Regions from separate parts of the Homo sapiens genome. Here region 2 is linked to region 1. Evidence: promoter capture Hi-C in 16 types of primary human blood cells and fetal thymus (Javierre and others, 2016). All regions are on one chromosome and are shown on one strand. The core of a region is centred on a gene start or on the middle of the fragment in contact, and the rest is flanking DNA. Distances in the headings are between cores, read along the strand shown. Region 1 holds the start of IL2RG (interleukin 2 receptor subunit gamma). Region 2 overlaps HUWE1 (HECT, UBA and WWE domain containing E3 ubiquitin protein ligase 1).

The links. The method cuts DNA at HindIII sites, captures the fragments that hold promoters and counts their contacts. A CHiCAGO score of 5 or more calls a contact.
Region 2: a fragment that was not itself captured here is called in contact with the fragment with the promoter of IL2RG in region 1 in 1 of 17 cell types (fetal thymus); the score reaches 6.9 in fetal thymus.

Annotation. Positions count from the first base shown.
Region 1 is chrX:71,110,327-71,113,268 of GRCh38, reverse strand. IL2RG (interleukin 2 receptor subunit gamma) reads left to right here and starts at 1,692. Exons shown (of 8, transcript NM_000206.3): 1 at 1,692-1,844; 2 at 2,219-2,372; 3 at 2,581-2,765. The coding sequence starts at 1,730. RefSeq lists enhancers at 1,540-1,929, 1,032-2,231. The HindIII fragment of the contact is 3,788 bases long and covers 1,095-2,942 here.
Region 2 is chrX:53,682,648-53,685,589 of GRCh38, reverse strand. All of the region lies in intron 2 of HUWE1 (HECT, UBA and WWE domain containing E3 ubiquitin protein ligase 1), which reads left to right. Among named protein-coding and RNA genes, the nearest start is that of HUWE1, 2.6 kb to the left of the region's middle. The HindIII fragment of the contact is 1,705 bases long and covers 694-2,398 here.

The sequences.
Region 1 (2,942 bases), core at 443-2,942:
TGGCGCAATTTTGGCTCACTGCAACCTCTGCCTCCTAGATTCAAGCGATTCTCATGTTTCAGCCTCCCGAGTAGCTGGGATTACAGGTGTTGCCACCATGTCTGGCTAATTTTTGTATTTTTAGTAGAGACGGGGTTTCACCAGGTTGGCCAGGCTGGTCTCGAACTCCTCAAGCAATCCACCTGCCTTGGCCTCCCAAAGTGCTGGGATTGCAGGCGTGAGTCACTGCACCCAGCCGAGAGAATAAATTTCTGTTGGTTTAAGCCACTCAGTTTGGGGATAACTTATGGCAGCCCTAGCAAACTAATACATACTAAAGATACATACTAAATACTAAGCTGGGCCATATAGTCCAGTTTTCCTGAGACTCCCAGGCAAGTGCTGTTTTTCTTTGCTTAATATCCTACACCACTTTCTGTCTGGTAAAATTACACTCATTCTTTAAGATGCCACTGAAATAGCACCTCTTCAGCACAGCCTTCACTAAACTATCCCCCTCTCCATCTTGGTAAATTTAGTTACTTCCTCTTCTGTGCTCACATACTTTGTAGTATCTCTACATTTATGCTATAGGACTTGTTACACTATGTTGTATTACTTGTTTATGTCTTCCCCACTTTTCTGTGAGTGTCTAGAAATATGAGGATGTCTTGTTGGTCTATTTCCAGAACATAAGCACAGTGCCTGGCACATATTAAAAACGTAATAAATGTTTGCTGAATAAATAGTTTCTGTAAGTGGCTTCTCCAATCACCTCTGTGTTTTCGGGGAAGGTAAAACTGGCAACAGGATGAAGAATGGATTAGAGAGCAGAGGGCCTTTAGAAAGGGAGGCCAGTTGATGGAGTCTAGATAGAATCATGACTAGAGCTAATGAAAGACTGATTTAGCAGAGTGGCTGTGGTAATGGAAAGGAGGAAACCGTTGGGAGAAACACCACAGAAGCAGAGTGGGTTATATTCTCTGGGTGAGAGAGGGGGAGAAATTGAAGCTGATTCTGAGGTTTCAAGTCTGGGTGACTGAGAGGGTGACGATACCATTGACTGAGGTGGGGAAGGCAGGAAGAGAAGCAGAGTTGGGGGAAGATGGGAAGCTTGAAGCTAGTATTGTTGTTCCTCCATTTCTAGAATATTTTTGTATTATAAGTCACACTTCCTCGCCAGTCTCAACAGGGACCCAGCTCAGGCAGCAGCTAAGGGTGGGTATTCTGGTTTGGATTAGATCAGAGGAAAGACAGCTGTATATGTGCCCACAGGAGCCAAGACGGTATTTTCCATCCTCCCAAAACAGTAGAGCTTTGACAGAGATTTAAGGGTGACCAAGTCAAGGAAGAGGCATGGCATAGAACGGTGATGTCGGGGGTGGGGGTTCAGAACTTCCATTATAGAAGGTAATGATTTAGAGGAGAAGGTGGTTGAGAATGGTGCTAGTGGTAGTGAACAGATCCTTCCCAGGATCTAGGTGGGCTGAGGATTTTTGAGTCTGTGACACTATTGTATATCCAGCTTTAGTTTCTGTTTACCACCTTACAGCAGCACCTAATCTCCTAGAGGACTTAGCCCGTGTCACACAGCACATATTTGCCACACCCTCTGTAAAGCCCTGGTTTATAAGGTTCTTTCCACCGGAAGCTATGACAGAGGAAACGTGTGGGTGGGGAGGGGTAGTGGGTGAGGGACCCAGGTTCCTGACACAGACAGACTACACCCAGGGAATGAAGAGCAAGCGCCATGTTGAAGCCATCATTACCATTCACATCCCTCTTATTCCTGCAGCTGCCCCTGCTGGGAGTGGGGCTGAACACGACAATTCTGACGCCCAATGGGAATGAAGACACCACAGCTGGTGGGAAATCTGGGACTGGAGGGGGCTGGTGAGAAGGGTGGCTGTGGGAAGGGGCCGTACAGAGATCTGGTGCCTGCCACTGGCCATTACAATCATGTGGGCAGAATTGAAAAGTGGAGTGGGAAGGGCAAGGGGGAGGGTTCCCTGCCTCACGCTACTTCTTCTTTCTTTCTTGTTTGTTTGTTTCTTTCTTTCTTTTGAGGCAGGGTCTCACTATGTTGCCTAGGCTGGTCTCAAACTCCTGGCCTCTAGTGATCCTCCTGCCTCAGCCTTTCAAAGCACCAGGATTACAGACATGAGCCACCGTGCTTGGCCTCCTCCTTCTGACCATCATTTCTCTTTCCCTCCCTGCCTTCATTTTCTCCCCAATCTAGATTTCTTCCTGACCACTATGCCCACTGACTCCCTCAGTGTTTCCACTCTGCCCCTCCCAGAGGTTCAGTGTTTTGTGTTCAATGTCGAGTACATGAATTGCACTTGGAACAGCAGCTCTGAGCCCCAGCCTACCAACCTCACTCTGCATTATTGGTATGAGAAGGGACGAGGGGGAGGGGATGAAGAAGAGGTGGGTTGGATCAGAGACCAAGAGAGAGGGTAGCAAGTCTCCCAGGTACCCCACTGTTTTCTCCTGGGGTAAGTCATAAGTCGGTTGAGGGGAGATGAGGCTAGGCTCTGGATATCTGCAGTACCCAGATTGGCCCCACTGTTCCTCTTCCTTCCAACCTTTCTCCTCTAGGTACAAGAACTCGGATAATGATAAAGTCCAGAAGTGCAGCCACTATCTATTCTCTGAAGAAATCACTTCTGGCTGTCAGTTGCAAAAAAAGGAGATCCACCTCTACCAAACATTTGTTGTTCAGCTCCAGGACCCACGGGAACCCAGGAGACAGGCCACACAGATGCTAAAACTGCAGAATCTGGGTAATTTGGAAAGAAAGGGTCAAGAGACCAGGGATACTGTGGGACATTGGAGTCTACAGAGTAGTGTTCTTTTATCATAAGGGTACATGGGCAGAAAAGAGGAGGTAGGGGATCATGATGGGAAGGGAGGAGGTATTAGGGGCACTACCTTCAGGATCCTGACTTGTCTAGGCCAGG
Region 2 (2,942 bases), core at 297-2,796, about 17 Mb after region 1:
TTACTGGCGAAATTGATCATATTTTTGTTTGTAAATAGGCAAATATCAATAGTTTATATAGGCAGTTTTCCTATCTATAAGCAATAAGCATTTTGAAATTTTAATAATAAAAAACCTGTTCGCAATAGCAAGAGAAACGAATAAAAATACCTAGAAGTAAACTATAAAACTTTATTGACGAATACCATAAAAGAACATCTGCATGAAAAGAGAAGGAATACTATGCTTCTGAATAAGAAGGCTCAATATTTTAGTGATGTCCATTTTTCCTATATTGGTTTATACAGTTGATGCAATTTCAATAAATATACCAAGTTTTTTTGGAACTTACTATGATTCTAAAGTTCATCCGGGGGAAAAAAATGGCTAAGAATAACTGAAAAAAAATATTTTAAAACGTAAGTAAAGATAGGGATATTTGTACTACTGGCTATTAAAATGTACTCTAAAGGAACTATTTAAATTAGAACGGACAGAACAATGCATTAGAATGGAAAAGCCCACAAATCAAGCCAGATTGGATCCCAAGATTTATTGGAGAAACACTGTTGGCTAGACGTGGAAAAACTGCCATATTAAAAGCTTCAGGCATTTCCCCCCATCCCCGAAGCTTGAATATTCCTTTGAGGGCAGACTCCTTTGTTTGGAGAAAACCACTTTATTGGATCTTTTTGGTTATGCCAAGGTAAAGCTTCAGTAGTTAAAATTGGTGGCTTTGGAACTAGAACTAATGATATGGCCTTTAGTTAGATTAAGATGGATTCAGGTTAGCCTGCAGTGCGGCGAGGGAAGGAGTCTGGATAATGTAGGTTTAAAAATTTTTTTCCCTATCTAATGGGCAAAAAATGTTATGTCATTGTTTTCATTTGCATTTGTGTGCTTACTGTGAGATTGAACGTCTTTTAAATGTTAGTCCAGGATAATATGTTATTCCTGGAGACAGGTAACAATGGGGGACTCTTTGCTCCGCTTCCAGAATGGAGTTTGGCTAATTGGTACAGCCTTGCCCGGAAGCGTGAGAATAAACAGGTTGACTTTTTAAATTTTCCTCAAGCACTAGGCTCTAGACACCTAGATCGGGGGCGGAGGCAGTTTTCAGGACATGGCCGAGATTTGGCGCTGAGCTGTGTCATCGCGAGGTTTGGCAGCCAGCTCCGCAGTGGGTCGGAAACCTCGTGGTAGGCGAGATCCCTGCAGGACGGGAGGGTTCCTCCCTTCCCCCGAAAAACTCCCAGTCATTTTCATGAAGCTCCGCCTTTCTCCTTTTTAGGAGTGTGCACCAGGTCTCGCGATATCTCATGTTTCCTAAAGGCGAGGCGCGGGCGGCATCCTGCGGTGAATTAAGAAGGTCTCGCCGAGGCTAAAGCGTAATATCGCGATAGTTCTCAACGCATGCGGGAGCCGGCCGTGGTAGGTTGGCTCCGCCCCTCACTGCTTCGTTAGGTTGTGCGTCATTTGCTTTTCGCTTCGCGTAGGGTGAAGCTGTAGCTACTTCGGCTTTGGTGGGAGGGAGGAGGGGTCTGGAAAGGGCTGGGCTCAGGCTTTTCCCGTCCGGTAGAGGTTCTCGCGGGATCGCGCGGAGGCGGCGGTGGCTCGGTTACTGACTGCAGTAGCCGCGGAGGCGGCGGCAAGGTCTTCGGCTCGTGCCGTTCTAAGCCGGAGAATTCTCGCGGGAGCAGGGTTACGTCCTCGTGGGATTCGTTGGCGGTGGCTGAGGTAGCTCGCGGGTGGGGGGTGGGGGGGCAGTGACTAGGGTCGGTCCGCCTGCTGTTAAGATGGCGGCGGAGGCTGATGTCTGTCCGGCCAGGACCCAGCACAGAGGTGTTGGCTATCTGCCTTTATGACGCCTCTGAGGTGCCCAGCGTTAAGGAGGTGACGATTGGCGAAACGCCGGGGTGCCGGTAAACTAGACCTGAGGCGAAGACCACCTCGTTTCTTGTCCGTTGAGGCGACACCATTTCCTGGGCCTCGGCCGCGTGTGGGCCCGCCTTTGCCCCACCGATCGGTCAACGCCTCCGTTGTCGCCGCCGCAGTGGGCGGATTGGGAAGGGTGGGAGGGGAGTCTGGAGTTCGCTGGGGAGTGGGGTTGGGGGTTAAATTGAACGGTGGGAAAGAGGAGCAACCAATGAAGAGTGGCCCCTTTCCCCTACCTTTTCTGCCGGCCAACCTCCGTTCTCAGCACCTCCGACGACCCGGATGAATACCCTGGTTTTTCTCGAGGTGGGGTCATCTTCGCCAACTCTCGCGGTTTTAGAGCTAAGGCTTAGGGTTCAAGCAGTAGTGTCACTGGTGTACTCCTCCTCCTCTCCCCACACCCCTCCTAATTCTGTCGTCCCATCTAATCTTCATCTACGTGGATAGTTGAGGCTGGTATTTAAGGGAGGGGGGAGTCAAAGCTTTTCCCTGTGACTCCTTCCCCAGTTCTAAATTCGAGTTTAGCCTAAGTCCTCTAGCCCGCTCTGTCTCCCCCTTCCATTGGTCCCCTTGGCGCAGGCGTTGAATAGAGCTTATCCTGTTGCCTGCATTTACTCCATCTTTGTGGATGGTGCCATAGTAGCCTTCCATTTCCTCAAGTCTTCATGTTTGTATGACTCTGATCCGGATTTCTTAGCTCTGCATGCTGCTAAACCACTATTAAGCGAAACTATGAACGGGTCGGTGTTTGGATATTGCAGTTTAAGTGGCCTTTTCGTTTACGGCCATTAGCCTTGCCTTCCTCATTCCTCCCCCTCAGAAGGCTGTAGAGGATAACTCTCCAGTAAACCCGCTTTCTGTCTTCCCTGCCTCTTCCATTTCCCCTGCAAGCCTGGGAACCGCCCCTTTTCCCTGCCTTGCTCTGAGTTTCTGGAGCCTCTTGGTCTGTGGACATCTATTTTTGCTGCTGAGCACCTCTTACCTGCTTCTCACTTCTTAATCTTTCTATCCCCCACTCCCCATACTCC